Linked DNA regions of Homo sapiens: region 2 is linked to region 1. The links are contacts of gene promoters, found by promoter capture Hi-C in blood cells and fetal thymus (Javierre and others, 2016). All regions are on one chromosome and are shown on one strand. Each heading gives the region's core, a stretch centred on a gene start or on the middle of the fragment in contact. The rest is flanking DNA. Distances are from core to core; before and after follow the strand shown.

Evidence for each region. Contacts are between HindIII fragments. The CHiCAGO score rates a contact against its expected background, and 5 or more counts as called.
Region 2: a contact is called between a fragment that was not itself captured here and the fragment with the promoter of CELF4 in region 1, in 1 of 17 cell types (non-activated CD4 T cells). The highest score is 5.2, in non-activated CD4 T cells.

The regions. Positions count from the first base shown.
Region 1 is chr18:37,563,537-37,567,081 of GRCh38, forward strand. CELF4 (CUGBP Elav-like family member 4) reads right to left here and starts at 2,262. Exons shown (of 13, transcript NM_020180.4): 1 at 1,820-2,262. The coding sequence starts at 2,105. It overlaps LOC124904288 (a long non-coding RNA gene), which reads left to right and starts at 2,741. Exons shown (of 2, transcript XR_007066345.1): 1 at 2,741-2,853; 2 at 3,043-3,152. RefSeq lists an enhancer at 1,806-2,309. The HindIII fragment of the contact is 19,532 bases long and covers 1-3,545 here.
Region 2 is chr18:39,549,608-39,553,169 of GRCh38, forward strand. The region is part of intron 2 of MIR924HG (MIR924 host gene); the gene reads right to left. Among named protein-coding and RNA genes, the nearest start is that of MIR924, 71 kb to the right of the region's middle. The HindIII fragment of the contact is 225 bases long and covers 2,182-2,406 here.

The DNA of each region.
Region 1 (3,545 bases), core at 1,012-3,511:
GGAAAAACTACAAAGATATGGTTGACTTGAGAGGGAGGGGGGGAAAAAGAAAGTGTTTTCTTTTTTTCTTCGAATATTATTTTGAAGGCTGCCTCCCCGTTCCACCTTTCCAATCTCTCTTTTGAACAGACAGACATTTTCTCCATATTGGATAAAGGTTGCCTTCTCTCTCCATTACAGCCCCCACCCTCACCCCACCCCAACAAACCCAGTATATTTCCATTCTGCTGTGTTTTTGTGTTACTCAACATGCCATTAACTTTAAGATTTACTCCTCAGCAGGCAAGCTGGAAGATACTAAAGCCAATAAAAACTGCTCTCTGGGACTCCAACTATGAAGAGTTTGGAGCTCTGTTTAGTATTCGAACGAAGGGAGGGCTGGAGAAAGAGGGTGGTTGTGATAGTGAAAATCGCTGCTGCTTAGAGAGCCAGACAGCTCTGCGCTCTGCACCTAATGTGCTGGAGGATCAGCTGTGTCCATAGCCCATTTGTGGCCAAGGATGAGGCTGCTCTCTATGTGGGGGTGGGTGTGCGTGTGTTTTCATCTTTAAAACCACCAGCTGTAACAGCATCTTCGGCGGCTCTCCACACTACTGTTTATTAAAAACGGAACATCCATACACATCCCCTACAACTTCCTTAGCCCCGTGCTCCTTCCCTGCCTGGCGATCAATCTCTCTCAGAAAGCATTTAACTTGCCCACATAGATCCAGCACCGATTCATTCCCGCTGCACATCCTATATATTACTGTTAGGAAGCGGAGCACTGGGCTAATTTCGTCACCCACCAGCCACCCACACACATTCTACAACTGAACACGTTTGGGGCTCTGCTTTAAAGATAATAAAACAAGGAGAAAACAGGCAGGCTGCGGACAATTCCCATGACCACTTTCCTAAAAAGTTGCTGTGTTTTAATTCTTTGATTATTCTGTCTCCCCCTCCCCCAAGCACTCACTGGCAATGATCGCTTCAAGGGAGAAATAATGTACTATAAAGCTCTCTGCATGGTGAGTTTGGGATAAATTAGGGTACACCTTTCAAAATGCAAATCTCGCACACACATATTTTTTTCCCAAAGCCCCGCTTTCCTGGGAAGGGGACTATCCAGGCTTGCCAGACCCCCCACTCCACCCAGGGGATGGCTGGTTCCTTGCTAATTCTTGCCTTAGGTTTTATCACTGGTTCCTTCAAACATCCAACCCCCCCACCCCCAACACACACCACCATTCACACCACAATCAGATTATTGAGGCACACAGCTCGACAGGGAGAGTTTACTGTTACATTTAAATAAAAATTTCTCTTTGAATTTGTCACCTCTCTCCCTTTTAGACGGCTGCGCTCCTGCTACTCTAGCCCGGAGCAAAGGATGAGGAGACCACCTCCTTTAGTATTTTCAGCACCACGGCGATGGACAGCACCCTCGGTCCTCGGCCGGCCAGGAGCCCGCGAGTCCGTCCGCTCAGCGTCCTGGGCTCGACCGGTGCAGCCTTCCCCATCCCCATCTTTCAGGTCGCTGTACCCAAAAATCCAAGCCCCGTCTCCTCGATCCCCTCTCTCTTTCTCTTCATCGGCGCCCGCTGCTCTCTCCATGGCATCGTTCCTATCAGCACCTCGCCCAAAACCCAGTCTTGCCCCAGCGAACAGCTCCCCACGCACCCCAGCTCTGGTCTCCGCTGCCCGAGCGCCTCCCTCCACCGCGCCCGCCCGAGGCTTCCTCTCGCTTAGTCCGCCGCTCGTCAGTCGCCGGCCGGCCGGTCGGCCCGCCAGCCCGCTCCTGCTCCCCGGCAAAGTTGGGAGGGAAAGGTGTACTCACCTTTGTGCATGCCTGTGAACCTGTCCTTCAGAACCGTAAGCTCGTAGATTTTGCCAAACTCCTCGAAGAGGGGCTTGAGGTCCTTCTCATCCAGGTTGCGGGGGATCTGCCCAATGAACAGCTTGATGGCATCGTGGTCCTTCATGGGAATGGTCGACGGGTTCCCCGGGCTGTGGCTTAATCCGTTCATGTGCCCGGCACTGCCCGGGCTGCTGCCGAGCCCGTTGGTACTGAGGCTTGCGTTGTCAGCCTGTCCGTTTGCTAACGTGGCCATCTTTATATACATAGAGAAAATCTTCTTTCCTTTTATTCTTTCTCGCTCACACTCTCTCGCTCCTCTCTCTCGCTCGCTCGCGCTCACACACGCACACGCATACACACACTCGGGTTCTCTCCCCCTCGGTTTCTCTACACCTCGCTCTCCGCTCGCTCTCTGCTCTCTCTCTTTCTCCTCTTCTCTCGCTCGCTCGCGCTCGCGCTCTCTCTCTGCTCTCCCCCCTCTCTCTCTCCCTCCCTCCCTCTCCTCTCTCTCTCCCTCTCTCTCTCCCTCTCTCTCTCCCTCTCTCCTCTCTCTCTCGGTCTGATCTGATTTTTTTTTTCTTTTTTTCTTTTTTTTTTTTTTTTTTTTTTTTTTACATTGAACAGACAGGATCTCTGTCCTTTCCGTTTAAACAGGCTGGACCGGTTCAAGTTCCCAGCCAGACCAGGGGTGGGGGTGGCGAGTGTGCGCGCGCGGAGGAGGGCGCGGGGGGCCGGGAATGGGCGCGCTGTGGGGGCCCGCGCCACGGCGGGCGGCGGCCGGGGGCAGGGCGGCGTGGGGCGGCGGCCACCGCGCCTCCCCCGTCGGCGGCCCCGCGCCGTGGCGATGGTACAGTCCGAGACGGCCCCCGGCTATAAATAGCGCCAGGCGCATGGCTCTTCGGGAGGCGCTGAGATTCCGGGCCCGGCGGCCGCGGGGAGCGGGTGTCCGTGAGGAGCCGGGCAGCCGGCCTCCTCTCTTTGCCTTTTGGGGGTTCTTTTTGTAATAGCAGCAGGTGCAACTTTTTGTATTTTAAAAATAGTGATTTTTATTTTCGTGTGGGTATGTAGGGGGGCTTTATCCACCAAGCTATGCTCTATTAGGGCGCCAGGCGGGCGAAGCAAAGGCAGGGATGGCGGGCGGGGCGGCGGCGGAGGTGGAATGGGCGCTTTTTTCTTCCATCTGGCTTTATTTATTTATTTAGACTAGAAAAGCGAGCCGGCTTGGAGGGAGTCCGCCCGGGGATCCGAGCGCGCATTCATCAGTGTCGAGAGAAAAAAAGCTACATAAATATATATTATGTGGATAAATCTATAGACAAGAGCTCTCTCGCGCGCGCTCTCTCCCTGTCTCTCTGTGTGTGTCTTTCTCTGTTTTTTTTTCCTCCTCGCACCCCCAACCTGCCAGAGCAGCCCCACATCTTCCTCCCGCCCGGCATCTACCGCCACCCAAGCCACCTGCCAGGATGGGGCTGGGAGCTGTCGGGCCGCGCCGGGGGGCAGAGGGACGGGGAGTAGAGACTCGGGGTCCGACCCCCGCCCCAACCCGCTTCCGAAGGCGGAAGGTGGGGGTCCCCGTCCCGGGCGGCCTCCCCCGCCCCGGAGAGCGCGGCTGGTCCCCCGGTGGCTGGCGGGAGGAAGGTAGGAGTCGGGCGCCCCTGCCCGCTCGCCCGCCGGAGGGGGAGGAAGGCGCTGGGCGCGGTGGCCG
Region 2 (3,562 bases), core at 1,044-3,543, 2.0 Mb after region 1:
TTTTCTTCCCACTTGGAATAATATTAGTGGGCTCCTTCCTCAGATTATGAGATGCCCTTTTGTTTAAATTATCCTTTTCAGGAATTACCTTGAGTCTTACCTACATTTATAGATAAAATTCCCAACTGTTTTGCCTAAAAACATAATAGATTCAGTATTTTTGTAATTTTTAACATCTTATTTCCTGCAAACTGAAGTACAGACCCCTAAGACTAACAACACACTTCCAAGTCCACTCACATTTGTTTGATGATTACTTAGTGACTCCTTACTCTCAAACTGGAGTCTCACCATTTCTGAAACCCATGTTATTGTATCCTACCATTGCATTTGACGTCGAAGTATGTTGTTTGCTGGGACTTTACCAGCATACTCTATTGAAGGCATTTCCATTTGGCCTTCCCTACACACTGTCAATATCAAATGCCTTCATTTCTATGAAATCTTCTCTGACAGTCTCAGCTAGAATTTCTCTCCTCTCCACACAAATGTCTGTAAAAAGGGATATTATAGTGATGCATAACCTACATATTATTGTGTAGAGAAAACTATCTTATGCAATACAATCAATACCTGTTGTTGGTTTGCTAATTGAAAAAGTTAAAGTATCAAATAATTTTTAAAAGGATATATTCTAAATTTTTATGCTAACCTAAAACAGAGATACATAAAATTATTATTCTTTTAGTACTGACAAATCTTTTGAGTACAGAACTGATGATTGTAGTTTATCATTATTTTTCTTGAATAAACATCACTATATTCTATATGGAGATTCTTTAAAATGGAGCAACCTCCTAAATACATTTGTATGAGAATCTAAAGGAATACTTTTTATAGACATTTATAGTTTGTACCCCCTCAAACATTTATTGTTGTCCTGCCTTGACTAAATTTGACAGCAAGTTTATGTGTTGGCTCTTTTTTGTGGCTAATAAATTGACATTAACGAGCCTTTCTAAGGCATTGTATTAGTTTTATGTTGCTGAATAATAAATTATTGTAAATTTAGCAGCTTAAAACAACAATTATTTATTACTTCACAGTTTTCATAGGGCAGGGCTCCTGGCACTTAACTGGTGCCTCTACTCAGACCCTCTCAAGGCTGCAATCAAGATGTCTGCCAGATAGCATTCTCATCTAATTCCCAGCTAGGGGGGAGTCCTTTCAAGCTTCTTCAGGTTCTTGGCCAAATCCATTTCCTTGAAGCTTTTTGACTGAGGTTCCATGCTTCCTATTCACTGTTGGCTAGACGCCACTCTAGAGGCTGCCCACTGTTCCCTGCCAAATGGCTCTCTCCAACACATGGAGAAACATGGCATCTTCAAGGTCAGCAGAAGAAGCTCTATCTTCAGTATGCTGAGCAGAATCTTAGGTAATATCATACAATCGTGGGAGAAACATGCCACCAGTTTTACTATACAACATAACCTAATCAAGAAAGTGGTATCTCATCACCTTTGTCAAATTCCATTGGTTAGAAGCAAGTCATAGCTTTCACCTGCACTTAAAAGTAAGAGATTATATAAGAGCATGAGTCACTGGGGTTCACTTTAGGGTATGTTCATGACAGGCATTCAAATTAAATTATTTTCCATAGAAATACTAACTCTCTTTTTGTATATATCTTTCATTAGTTTATCGAACATACATCAGTATATCAAACATATAATTATGAAATTTGAGTATCAGGTTAAATGAGTATAAGCTGACTTGGTGATGAACACAATTGACTCTTGAGAAATATACAACTCAATTGGTAGGAGTTTCATTCCACTGTAGGACTCCAGAGTATGTTTTACAGAAAGAATAGGCAGTGTCTGTAAAGCCAGTGAGTCCATGTAAATGAGATGGCCCAGAGAATTACATTGAACTGATTTTTAATCATATTTATCATTTGAAGTTATGGCCCATGACTTTATGCACACATACACACACACATACCCCTCATACTGTGCTTTGTATACAACAAACTCTCAACAAACAGAAACTAGATAAAGGAAGCTGGTCAGGCATTTCAATACAAGTGCCATAGAAACTATTTAGAGGAAGTAGTTGGTAAACGCAAAATGATAAAAGTTCAATAGTCTGTTTTGTTGAAATAGTAAAAAAAAAAAAAAAAAATGAGCTAAAAGGAATTAGGTATTAACTATTCTAATTCTCTTATTTCATAAATGTGGAAGCTTGGGCCAAGGAAGGTTTTCACTAAGTCAGTATTGCATGCTTATTTTATTTATGAATTCACCATAATAAGGGGAAGAGAGAGACATAAGCCATGTTCTGTGAAGTCACAATGAAGCACAAGCGTGGTTAGGTTAGAAGTGGAGATCTGAGAAAGGTTAAATGTGGGGCACTGAAGCCCAGTCCAGAAGAACCGGAATAGACGAAGAGAGAAAAATGAAGGAAAGCTTAGATCTGATGGAAAAATACAAAATGTGCTAAGCCATGGAGGCATGAAAGTTCACAGTTTACTCAGAGAACATAAAGTGAACAATCTTATTTCTAGAGGAAAAGGTGTTTTCAGGGAAGTTGATACGAAAGGTCAAAACAAAATTGTGAAGGGCCTTTGGTTTCTTGCTAAGTGGTATCACTAATGTGTTCTAATATATGATGGAGATCCATAGGACATTTGGGGGTAATAGTAGGATCATAGGTGTTAGGTATATTACTGTGCATGCAGTTTATGAGCTGAGCTGAAGAGAAGACTTAGAAATACTTCAAGAGGAGGTGTATACCTAATCTGGGAACACCAAAGTAGTAGTAAATAGGAAATCCAGCTGGAATCACACTCAAAGCCCAGAGTTACTAAAAGAACATAATTATGAATATTAAATTCTCTTGGGATTGTGACACAAATAAGAATGGGTAGCAAGAAAGTTATCACAACCTTCATTGATTTTGTGGATGTGACTTGAACATCATTGGTGACAGTGACAGGCAATGAGGGTGGTATAATTTGGGAATGGCTTCCAAGAAAGTGAACTCAGGGAAGTGGCCTCAGGAGGATGAGCCAGTATAAGTGTTGCATCCCAGTGAGCTTACTATTGGTCCTGGAGAATGCTCCTGGAAGAATGAAAAACTGCCACTTAAAGGTTATAAGTATGTGCTCTTAAAAGAAAGTTAAGAGTTTGGGGTAGTTGAAGAGGTAGAAATTATTCCAAAGATAGTTAATAAATATAGAAAATTTCCTGGGCAATAAAAGAGAAGGTCCAGAGTGTGTATGTAACACAAGGTTTGAAGTTGTGTAAGACAGGAAAAGATTAAGAGATGGTCATTATTTTACAAGCTCATGCTAGAATTTGGATTCTCTCACTATACAAAAACACCACATCAAATAGTTACATGGCTTATAGCTACAGGTACATTTCCTTGAAGTGTCACCTCACTGCGAGACTTACAACTTGTGTAAACTTCAGCTGGATGACTTCATTAAACCAGCATTGTTCAATGACATGTTTCTGAAAATGTGTTTTCTTGTAGTGTCTAGCAGGGTCAGCAAAGAAACTGTTAACTAAAACATATCACATGAAAGTTTTACATACACTCTGGTTGTGTCAAAGCA